Regions from separate parts of the Homo sapiens genome. Here region 2 is linked to region 1. The links are contacts of gene promoters, found by promoter capture Hi-C in blood cells and fetal thymus (Javierre and others, 2016). All regions are on one chromosome and are shown on one strand. Each heading gives the region's core, a stretch centred on a gene start or on the middle of the fragment in contact. The rest is flanking DNA. Distances are from core to core; before and after follow the strand shown. Region 1 holds the start of ASXL1 (ASXL transcriptional regulator 1). Region 2 overlaps C20orf203 (chromosome 20 open reading frame 203).

Evidence for each region. Contacts are between HindIII fragments. The CHiCAGO score rates a contact against its expected background, and 5 or more counts as called.
Region 2: a fragment that was not itself captured here is called in contact with the fragment with the promoter of ASXL1 in region 1 in 1 of 17 cell types (naive CD8 T cells); the score reaches 5.5 in naive CD8 T cells.

What each region holds. Positions count from the first base shown.
Region 1 is chr20:32,356,957-32,362,612 of GRCh38, forward strand. ASXL1 (ASXL transcriptional regulator 1) reads left to right here and starts at 1,375. Exons shown (of 13, transcript NM_015338.6): 1 at 1,375-1,876. The coding sequence starts at 1,820. RefSeq lists silencers at 1,625-1,674, 1,915-2,074. The HindIII fragment of the contact is 9,109 bases long and covers 1-3,402 here.
Region 2 is chr20:32,654,238-32,660,135 of GRCh38, forward strand. All of the region lies in intron 1 of C20orf203 (chromosome 20 open reading frame 203), which reads right to left. Among named protein-coding and RNA genes, the nearest start is that of C20orf203, 17 kb to the right of the region's middle. The HindIII fragment of the contact is 2,606 bases long and covers 1,841-4,446 here.

The sequences.
Region 1 (5,656 bases), core at 125-2,624:
ATTAGAAGCAGAAAACACTGAACCCCTTGGCGTTAGAGTTTGGGCTACACCATAATGGTCTCCTATCAATACTGGCTCTCGCTACGTGTTAACATTAGGGAGTGGAGAGTGTGTTTCCTCACCCAGGGAAACCGTTTAAATGTGGCCACTGATCCTGCCTTCATAGTTTTTAAGAGCTGGCATCAATCCAACTCCGGACGGACTCTAGAAATGTTTCTGGACAACGACTGAACCTATAGTTACAGAAAACCTATGTGCTGGGCGCTCTGAATTTCATTTCAGGTTCTAAAACTAAGGCTCAGAGAGGCTAAGTATATTGCCTATTGTTTCTCAGCTGGTAATAACAGCTACCATTTATTAAACATTTGCTCTATGCCAGGCGCCATATCATACGGACCTGATAATGTCAAGATCTCCCTTCACATCCTCTTCCAATCTGTCAAGAATTGTATGTTAATTTTAATTCCAATAATGCCATGAAATACAAGACAAATGCAGATCAGAAAACTGAGGCTCAGAGAGGTTGAGTGGACAGCCAGGGAGTGACTCAGCCAAGATTCCAGTCTAGGTCCGCTGGACTCCAGGGCCTGAATTCTCTCCAGGGTACTGCCTCTAAAAACGCCCTCAGGTGCATTCTGGTCAGTATGGCCCCAGAGTCCAAGTTCTTTACACGACCCGTCAACATATCACCAAGTTCCTAAGAACGCTCTAGGCTGCTGGTGCAGGCTCTGCAAATACACAGCGGCCTGAAAGCACAGGAAGAAATGAAGAACCGTCTAAGTCCATCAGCCGTGGAATAACCGTTTTACTGGTATGAGGGTCTTTTTGTCTCATTATTATGTGGCAGTGAGTCATTTAGAGGTGACCAAAAGGGAAAGTCCTGCCTCTCGTCCCCTACGAGAAGTGTAGGTAAGAACCGTTTAGGCGAGGAGAAGCACGAAGTGGGAACTGCGAGTCGAGCTCCCCATCCTCACTCCCCACCCGCACCCGCCAGGAGGTCCTGAAGCAAAAAGCACCGAAGGGGTTAAGGGTGGCCGGGGGAGCCCAGCCACCGCCCCTTCCCAGCATCGCCTCCCAGAATCCCGCAGGCCCCCAGCCAGTTCTCGCACCTCGCGAGACTCCACCCAGCCCCTTCCCCGAACAGCGACCCGTCCCCGTTCCTAGCTGAGGTCGGTGCTAGGCGGAGGACGCGAGAGGGAGAGCGGAAGGGGGCCGCCGGGCACGCCGGGAAGTGTGGTCCACGCGCTTCACGCGGCCATATTCTTCCGGAGCGGGGGAGGCCAGAGAGGCCGTTGGGACTACGACTCCCAGGCGCCCTTTCGGTTTGTTTTTGTTCAAAAAAAAAAAACCCCACACTCCCCCTCCTCACTCTTCACACACACTCACACACACCCACGGCAGACACGCACGCACCCGGGCGCCGAAGGGAAAGCCGCGTCTCGCCCTCCCGCCCCGCCGTCGGTCCTGTCTCAGTCCCTCAGCAGAGCGGGAAAGCGGAGGCCGGAGCCGTGACCTCTGACCCCGTGGTTATGCGGAGCCGCCGCATTCCTTAGCGATCGCGGGGCAGCCGCCGCTGCCGCCGTGGGCGACTGACGCAGCGCGGGCGCGTGGAGCCGCCGCCGCCCCTCCCCCACCGCCGCTCTCGCGCCAGCCGGTCCCCGCGTGCCCGCCCCTTCTCCCCGGCCGCACCCGAGACCTCGCGCGCCGCCGCTGCCACGCGCCCCCCCCACCGCCGCCGCCGCCCCAGCCCCGCGCCACCGCCCCAGCCCGCCCAGCCCGGAGGTCCCGCGTGGAGCTGCCGCCGCCGCCGGGGAGAAGGATGAAGGACAAACAGAAGAAGAAGAAGGAGCGCACGTGGGCCGAGGCCGCGCGCCTGGTGAGGCGGACAGCCGAGGGGGGCTCCGTGGGGCCCGGGGTGGGGGGGGCTCGCCGCGCACCCCCCCACTGGGGGGGGAGGGGCAAGGCCCTGCCCACCGCGGGAGGGGGCGGGGCCATCTTCCTTTAAGAACGGGACAGCCCCGCAAGGCGAGGGGTGGGGAGCGCTCCGCCGGGATGGGATGTGGCGCCTTTTTCCGCTCGCCCTCGCGCCCCCCCCGCCCCGCGCAGCTAAATTCCGGCGGAGGGGCGAGCTGGCAGGCCGGCTCCTCCCACTCTGGGCAGCGGGGTCCCGCGTCCCCTCCCCCACTATTTGGCAGCGTCTGGGGGTCTGGGGCAGCTTCGTTCATTCACCCGGGGGAGTTGGGTTTCCGGGAAGGGTCGGAAGCTCCTCCCTCGCTTCCTGGTGGGTAATGGGGTGGTGCCTTTGACTCCGGGGGTGGAAAAGCGACCCCACATTCAAGGACGCCAATGGCATGTTGAGCTTTCCCAATCTAAACCAGGTGCGTGGAGGGAAGCAAGTGCTTACTCCCAGCTTGAACCCTGAGCAGCGGTTCTCTAACTTTAGTGTCCTGTGGGCGACACCTGGGAGGCGGTTAGGAACGCTACTCCTAGGGCCCTTCGTAAGACCTGCTGAGCCTCAGGGTCTGGGATAGAGCCTGGGAATCTGCGCTTTCACCAGCTTCCCAGGTGATTCAAACGCAGTGGCTCACGGACCCCACTTTGAGAAACGCAGACTGGGCTGTTTGCCTTCAGAAGCTGGACTGGAAATTGGTATTTTGAGGAGAACTGAATCCACTTTGCAAAGAATGTATGTTGGACAAAGACAAAGTATCTCTGTTGGGAGACGTTGTTCACTGAGGATTTAGCAAGGGAGAGCGTAACTTGAGTGTTTGAAGCCGTCTCGTTCAACCGATGGGGGTTGTGAATTTTGTGTTCAGAGCGTCAGAGGACTTGCAGGTGAAATAGCTTCCTTTTGGATTACTCCCACAAAGCTCAGACACTTTGAGACATATTCGGGTAATTATCTGCTGATACCAGTAGTAACAGGTTATACTAAGATGTCAGTTCCTAAGATCTGTCACACAGCGAGGTTGTGGTGCGGATAGCATAAGTGTCTCTTGACACTGTAGTTTATATGTAATGGTTGTAATTCAGTTTTAATGATGAGTGAAGCTCAGACTTAATTTTCTCTCTTATTTTGAAGTGAGTTTTCTGCTTCAAAGGTGTTGTGCAAAAAAAAAAAAAATAGACTGTATTGGGGGGGTTGACACAAACCTGAAGTACACCTTTTTCTTTCTCGAAGTCTGTAAAAGTTACAGATTTATAAAAACTGAAGGAATTTGGGCTACAGAATTTTCATTGGTGCTTGCTATCCTCTTCCCTAGTCATTTGTTGCCCAGGGAACAAAAATAGCAATTGTTTGTATGCTGAAGTTTTGTGCTTCAGTTTATTTTGGCCTGGCATGTGAAGTTTGAAGATTTTGAGGTTCCGAAATATTTTTTTTCTGATTGAGTCAAAATTGGAAGCTTGGGCTAGTTTTCAGGATCTTGTAGAAATTTCAGGATTTCTCTAACGGTTCTGCACCTGGAAACAAATATAGGCCTGATGGGGAGTGGGAGAGAGCTCTCGTTCTCCTCCTCGACAATGAGTTTTGTGTGTTCATTGACATTCTCCTTGGCGTTCCTGTTATGCGGGTGTTTATGACCCTGGGCACCCAAGGAAATTTGCTTGCCAGAGTTTTACTTGTTAGAGGTAGGTGAAAGTACTTTTAAGTCTTGTGTTATTTATGTCTTGACAGAATTATGAAATCTGTTTGTCTCAAAGTTCTGTTGGCTCTTACTAGTTGACTTTAGGAATTTGGGGTCCACTGTTAAGTCTCTTTAGATTCTCGAATTTACCGTGGTCTGAACTTCAACATCGAGGTTGCTATTTCTGTTTTATCATTGACTCAACTTCAAGCCAGGTTATCAGGGTAAGTTATTCCTCTTTTTCTTCTAAGGCTCTTCATTAAAAATAGTAATATGAATAGGAATTACTTTGTTTGTTTGTTTTTCGTTTGTTTGCCACCACACCCGGCTAATTTTTTATTTTTAGTAAAGATGGGGTTTTTCCATGCTGGTCAGGCTGGTCTCGAACTCGTGACCTTAGGTTATCCGCCCACCTTGGCCTCCCAAAGTGCTGGGATTACAGGCGTGAGCCACCGCGCCCAGCCTATGAGTAGGAATTACTTTGTGGTGCTGTTATACATGTGAAAAAGGATTTGCGAGACTTTGGGAGTCTGAGGTGGAATAATCACTTGAGGCTAGGAATTCGAGATGAGCCTGGGCAACATAGACCCGGTCTCTACAACAACAGCAACAAAATGAGCTGGGCATGGTGGTACACACCTGTGGTCCTAGCTACTCAGGAGGCTGAGGATAGCTTAGGCCGAGGAGTTGGAGGCTGCAGTGCCCAATGATTGATTGTACCACTGCACTCCAGCCTGGGTGATAGAGGGAGACCCTGACTCTAAAAAAATAATGAGGCTGGGCGCTGTGGCTCACGCCTGTAATCCCAGCACTTTGGGACGCCGAGGTGGGTGGATCACAGGGTCAGGAGTTCTAGACCAGCTTGGCCAACAAGGTAAAACCCAGTCTCTACTAAAAATACAAAAATTAGCCGGGTGTGGTGGTGCACGCCTGTAATCCCAGCTACTGAGGGGGCTGAGACAGGAGAATCACTTGAACTTGGGAGGTGGAGGTTGCAGAGAGCCAAGGCCATGCCACTGTCCAGCCTGGGTGACAGAGCAAGACTCGTCTCAAAAAAAAAAAAAAAAGAAAAAAAGAAAAAGGACTTGTTGAGAATGTGATATGCAATTTGAGTATCTTGTGTGTGTTTTTTGTTTTAGAATTTTCCATTTCTTTGAATGGGACTGGATGGTAGGTGAGGGGGAACTTTTTAAGAGTCCCAGGCCGGGCACGGTGGCTCACGCCTGTAATCCCAGCTCTTTGGGAGGCCGAGGCAGACGGATCACCTGAGGCCAGAAGTTCGAGACCAGCCTGGCCAACATGGTGAAACCCCGTCTCTACTAAAAATACAAAAATTAGCCAGGCATGGTGATGGTGCATGCCTGTAACCTCAGCTACTCGGGAGGCTGAGGCAGGAGAATCACTTGAACTCGGGAGGTGGAGGTTGCAGTGAACCCAGATCACACCACTGCACTCCAGCGGCGACAGTGAGACTCTGTCTCAAAAACAAAACAAAAGAAAAAACCAGTCCTCTTAATGTTTAAAAAAAGTTGCTGTAACACTGTACTGGAGAATTTGTGAGAGCGTACACTGGACTGAGAGAAACTTGACTAGGAGGGAACGTAGGACAGTTGATTAGAACACCTGAACACTTCTCTTTGGGCAGGTGAATTTGGAGTGCTTGCAATGGCAATTGTATGCACTTCCATGGGAACGCTTTCAGATTGCTCCTGACCCCACTCAGATTGGTGACTAGAGTGTTACTGGGAATCCTTTTAAAAATTGTTTTTGTAGGCTGTGCGCGGTGGCTCACGCCTGTAATCCCAGCACTTTGGGAGGCCGAGGCGGGCGGATCACGAGGTCAGGAGATCGAGACCATCCTGGCTAACACGGTGAAACCCCATCTCTACTAAAAATACAAAAAATTAGCCAGGCGTGGTGGCGAGTGCCTGTAGTCCCAGCTACTCGGGAGGCTGAGGCCGGAGAATGGCGTGAACGCGGGAGGCGGAGCTTGCAGTGAGCCGAGATCGAGCTACTGCACTCCATCCAGC
Region 2 (5,898 bases), core at 1,894-4,393, 300 kb after region 1:
TAATTCAATTTATACTAGCATCAAAGAGAATAAAATGCTTAGGAATAAAAGAAGTACAAAACTTATAATCTGAAAACTACAAAACATTGTTTAAAGAAATTAAAGATGCCATAAATAAATGGAAAAATACCAATGTTCATAGATCTAAAGACCCAATACCATTAAGATGGCAAGACTCCCCAAATTGATCTTCAGATTCAACACAATCTCCATCAAAATTCCAACTTGGTTCTTTACAGAAATTGACAAGCTGATCCTAAAATTCATATGGAAATTTAAGGGACTCAGAAAAGCTAAAACAGTCCTGAAAAAGAATAATGGTGGGCCAGGCGTGGTAGCTTATGTCCGTAATCCCAGCACTTTGGGAGGCCGAGGTGGGCAGATCACTTGAGTCCAGGAGTTTGAGACCAGCCTGGGTGATATGGTGAAACCTCATCTCTACAAAAAATACAAAAATTTAGCTGGGTGTGGTGGCATGTGCCTGTAGTCCCAGCTACTCAGGAGGCTGAGGTGGGAGGATCACTTGAACCTGGGAGGTAGAGATTGCAGTGAACCAAGAATGTGCCACTGCATTCCAGCCCGTGTGACACAGCAAGATCCTTCCCCAAAAAAAGAAGAAGAAAAAATGAACAATGTTGGAGTGCACACACTTCCAATTTCAAAAATTACTATAATAAACTACAGTAATCAGGACAATGTGGTACTGGCATAAGGACAGACATAGAGATCAATGAAATATAAATAAGAGTCCTGAGAGTCCAGAAATAAACCCTCACATTTGGTTCAGCCGCAAGAGCCGAACATATTTAATGGTGGAGTTCAATGGGGAAAACAGAGTCTTGCAAAAGAAAGAGGTCAGACCCCTGCCTCACACCATACACAAAAATTAAAGTGGATGAAAACAAATGTAGGAGCTAAAACTATAAAACTCTGAGAACATAGACATAAATCTTCATGACCTTGGATTAGGCAATAGTTTCATAAATATGATACCAAAAGCACAAGCAACCAAAGAAAAAATAGACTAGGCTTCATCAGAATTTAAAATTTTGCATCAGGCATGGTGGCTCACACCTGAAATCCCAGCACTTTGGGAGGCTGTGGCAGGAGGATCGCTTGAGACTGGACACTATCAAAAAAGTGAAAAGACAACCCACAGGATAGGAGAAAATAACTGACAATCATATATCTGATAACAGATTCTAACCAGCATATATAAAGAACCCTTACAACTCAATAATAAAAGACAAATAGCCCAGTTTAAAAATGGGCTGAGCCAAGTGTGGTGCTCACTCCTGTAATCCCAGCACTTTGGGAGGCTGAGGTGGGCAGATCACCTGAGGTCATGAGTTCAAGACCAACCTGGCCAACATGGAGAAACCCCATCTCTACTAAAAATATAAAAATTAGCCCGGCGTGGTGGCAGACGCCTGTAATCCCAGCTACTCAGAAGGCTGAGGCAGGAGAATCACTTGAACCCAGGAGGTGGAGGTTGCAGTGAGCCAAGATCACACCACTGCACTCCAGCCTGGGTGACAGAGCAAGACTCCACCTCAAAATTTAAAAAATAAAAATAGAAACAGGCAGATATGGTTGGGATGTTTGTCTCCTCCAAATCTCATGTTGAAATGTGATCTCCAGCGCTGGAGGTGGGGCCTGCTGGGAGATGTTTGGGTCACGGAGGTGACTCCCTCATGAATGGCTTGGTGCCCTCCTCACAGTAATGAGGGAGTTCTTGCTCTGTTAGTTCACAAGAGAGCTGGTTGTCTGAAGGAGGCTGGCAGTGCCCACCCTTTCTCTTGCTCACACTGGCTCCCCTTTGCCTTCTGCCATGATTGGAAGCTTCCTGAGGCCTACTCCAGGAGCAGGTGCTGGTGCCATGTGTCCTGTACAGCCTGTAGAACTGTGAGCCAAATAAACCTCTTTTCTTTACAAATTACTCAGTCTCAGCTATTCCTTTATAGCAATGCAAACAGACTAATGCATGGGCATAGGATGTAAATAGACATTTCTCCAAAGAAGACATACAAATGGCCAATAAGCACATGAAAAGATACTCAACATCATTAGTCATTAGGAAAATGCAAGTCAAAACCACAATGAGATAGCACTTTGTACCCACTAGGTTAGTTATAATAAAAAAGACAGATAATAACAAGTGTTGATGAGAATATGGAGAAATCAGAACCCTCATACACTGCTGGTAAGAATGTAAAACGTTTTGGAAAAAGCCTGGCAGTTCAAAAGGTTATATATAGAGTTACATGATCCAGCAATTCTGCACCTAAAAGGTATATACCCAAGAGAAATGAAAACATGTATTCACATAAAAACTTACATAAGGCCGGGCGCAGTGGCTCATGCCTGTAATCCCAGCACTTTGGGAGGCCAAGGCAGGTGGATTTTCGGAGTTCAGCAGTTCGAGAACACCCAGGGCAACATGGTGAAACCCTGTCTCTACCAAAAATAGAAAAAAAATAGCCAGGTGTGGTGGCATGTACCTGTAGTCCCAGCTACTCAGGAGGCTGAGGCATGAGAATCGCTTGAGCCCCAGAGGCAGAGGTTGCAGTGAGCCAAGATCGCACCACTGCACTCCAGCCTGGACAACAGAGTACGACTCCATCTCAAAAAAAAAATCTTACATGACTAGTCATAGCAGCATTATTCCCCCAAAATAGAAACAACCACAACCCAAATGTCCATCAGCTGATGAATGGATAAATGAAAGGTGGTATATTCATACAATGGAATATTATTCAGCAATAAAAAGGAGGACTAAAGTGCTGACACATGCTGTAACATAGATAAACCTTACAAACATCATGCTGGGGCCAGACACAGTGGTTCACACCTGTAATCCCAGCACTTTGGGAGGCTGAGGTGGGAGAATCACCTGAGGCCAGGAGTTCAGGACCAGCCTGAGCAACACAGTGAGACCCCATCTCTACAAAAAAATTAAAAATTAGCTGAGGCTGGCCATGGTGGCTCACACCTGTAATCCCAGCACTTTGGGAGGCTGAGGCGAGTGGAACACTTGAGGCCAAGAGTTCCAGACCAGGCTGGCCAACATGGTGATACCCTGTCTCTACTAAAAATACAAAAATTAGCCAGGCGTGGTGGTAGGCACCTGTAATCCCAGCTACTCGGGAGGCTGAGGTAGGAGAATCACTTGAACTCAGGAAGAGGAGGTTGCAGTGAGCTGAGATCTCACCACTGCACTACAGCCTGGGCGACACAGCGAGACTCTGTCTCCAAAACAACAACAACAACAACAACAACAAAGGAGTTTGAGACCAGCCTGGGCAACATAGTGAGACCTCATCTCTAAAACAAAATTTTAAAAATAAATAAAAAGGCGTCACATTTACTAACATCGATGAGGTCCAAGATATACCACCAAGTCAAAAGAAAAAAAAAGCAGGTTCAAAAATAAGCCTGTAGGCTGGGCAAGGTTGCTTCTGCCTGTAATCCCAGCACTTTGGGAGGCCAAGGCAGGAGGATCACTTGATATCAGAAGTTCGAGACCAGCCTGGCCAATATGGCAAAACCCCGTCTCTACTAAAAATATAAAAATTAGCCAGACATGGTGGTGGGCACCCCTAATCCCAGTTACTCAGGAGGCTGAGGCAGAAGAATCCCTTGAACCTGGGAGGTGGAGGTTATAGTCAGCTGAGATTGCGCCACTGCACTCCAGCCTGGGCAACAGAGCTAGACTCTGTGCGCCCCCAAACCTAAAAAAAAAAAAAGAAAGAAAGAAAGAAAAAGAAAGCATGCAGATTAAAACAGGTACTTAAGAGACTTTAAGAAGATAAAATTTCAGCTGGGCACGGTGGCTCACGCCTGTATCTCAGCACTTTGGGAGGCCGAGACGGGCGGATCACCTGAGGTCAGGAGTTTAAGACCAGCCTGGCCAACACGGTGAAACCCCAACTCTACCAAAAATACAAAAATTAGCTGGCACCTGGCATTCTGATTTTTAAGAAGCAAGCATAATAGGATTCCATTCTTATGAAAAAATCTGTATCTATATGTGTATAACAAAAATACCTGGAAATTTAGGATTTAGGGTACTCTTTTTATTTTTGGAGAACAGGGCTCACTCTCACCCAGGCTGGAGTGCAGTGGCAGGATCACGGCTCACTGCAGCCTCAAACTCCTGGGCTCAAGGAATCCTCTCAAGTAACTGAGACTACAGATGTACACTACCATGCCCAGCTAATTTTTGAATTTTTTCTTTTAGAGCTGGGGTCTTGCTATATTGCCCAGGCTGGCCCCAAACTCCTGGGCTCAAGCAATCCTCCCACCTCAGCCTCCCAAAGGGCTGGGATTACAGGAGTGAACTACCACACCCAATCTATGATACTCTTAATTTATATTTTACTGAATTTTCCAATTTTTGTTACTGCAATGGATAATAATCACTTCTACAGACAGAAAAAACAATAAAGCTTTTTGCTGTGTTGCAGGCATTCCTTTGGCCCTGACATTGTGTGAGCACAAAGGGTAGGTGGGGAATGACACTGGAGCTACAGGGAGATGGAGCAGGAGAAGACCAAGGCTCAGCGTCCTCCGGCCTTGGCGTCCAGGGCTGATTCAAGGCCTAGACCCCACTGCGGCTTCCCAGAGACTCAGACCCACTTCTCTTTTTTTTTTTTTAAACAGAGTTTCGCTCTTGTTGCCCAGGCTGGAGTACAATGGCGTGATCTCGGCTCACCACAACCTTCGCCTCCTGGGTTCAAATGATTCTCTTGCCTCAGCCTCCCGAGTAGCTGGGACTACAGGCATGCACCACCACGCCTGGCTAATTTTTTGTATTTTTAGTAGAGATGGGGTTTCTCCATGTTGGTCAGGCTGGTCTCAAACTCCCAAACTCAAGTGATCCACCTGCCTTGGCCTCCTAAAGTGCTGGGACTACAGGCATGAGCCACCGTGCCCGGCCTAAGACCCCTTCTCTTTCAGGGCAGCTGGTGCAGCTGCTGCACAGCCGACCCCCTTGCCCCACACTCCAAAGACACTGGGAATGTAATCCTGGCTTGATGAAGGTCACCCTGTTTCTGGCCGTACAATTCACCAAGGAGGAGAAGCCCTGGGCAGGAGGCCTGGGGCTAGGGGCAGGTTCTCATCCTGCCTACTACCAGCACAAAAACATTATCGCAGCTCAATGAACACTCTCTACGCATCAGGCAGTCCTGCTAGGTGATGTACCTGATTCATTTTATTTCCTCCTCCTGATGACCTGAAGTGATGGGTGGGACCACCATCTTCATTGTACAGATGAGCAAACTGAGGCTCAGGGAACCTACATGAGTGGACCCAGGTGCTCAAAGTGGAGGTGCCTGCAGCAGCCACTATCTTTGAGACTGGACCTGGCTGGACCCCTCATGGGTGGACCTCAGTGAATTCTGCCAGGATCCCAGGAAGGGTGCCTTCCCTCATTTCCCAGATGAGGACTCTGAGAATGAGAGGGGAAGGCCACTTGTCCATGTCCCACAGTGACTGTGTGGCAGGAAGAGGTGCAAGCCAGAGCCTGTGCTCTCAGCTGCCATACCAGGCAGCCTCTTTCACCTGTGAGGGGCCATGGGCATGCTCCCCACCTCCGTGGCTGGCACTAGTAATATCAATTAATAATAATAGATAATAGCAATAATTATTATGACATATAATTATATCAAATGTATTATATTAACATCATCATCATCATCATCATCCACATCAACACAGTTGTGTTGTAACCTGGGGAGTGTGTGTCAGTGGCCAGTGTGCTGTCCTGTATGCCAGCGCATTTGCTCTTCTCAGCAGATCTATAAGTCTTCATTCTGACTTTATTTCCCCCCATTTTAAAGGCCCAGGGAGCAGACCACATGGGGACTACACCTCTGGGGCACAGTTGCTACTCCT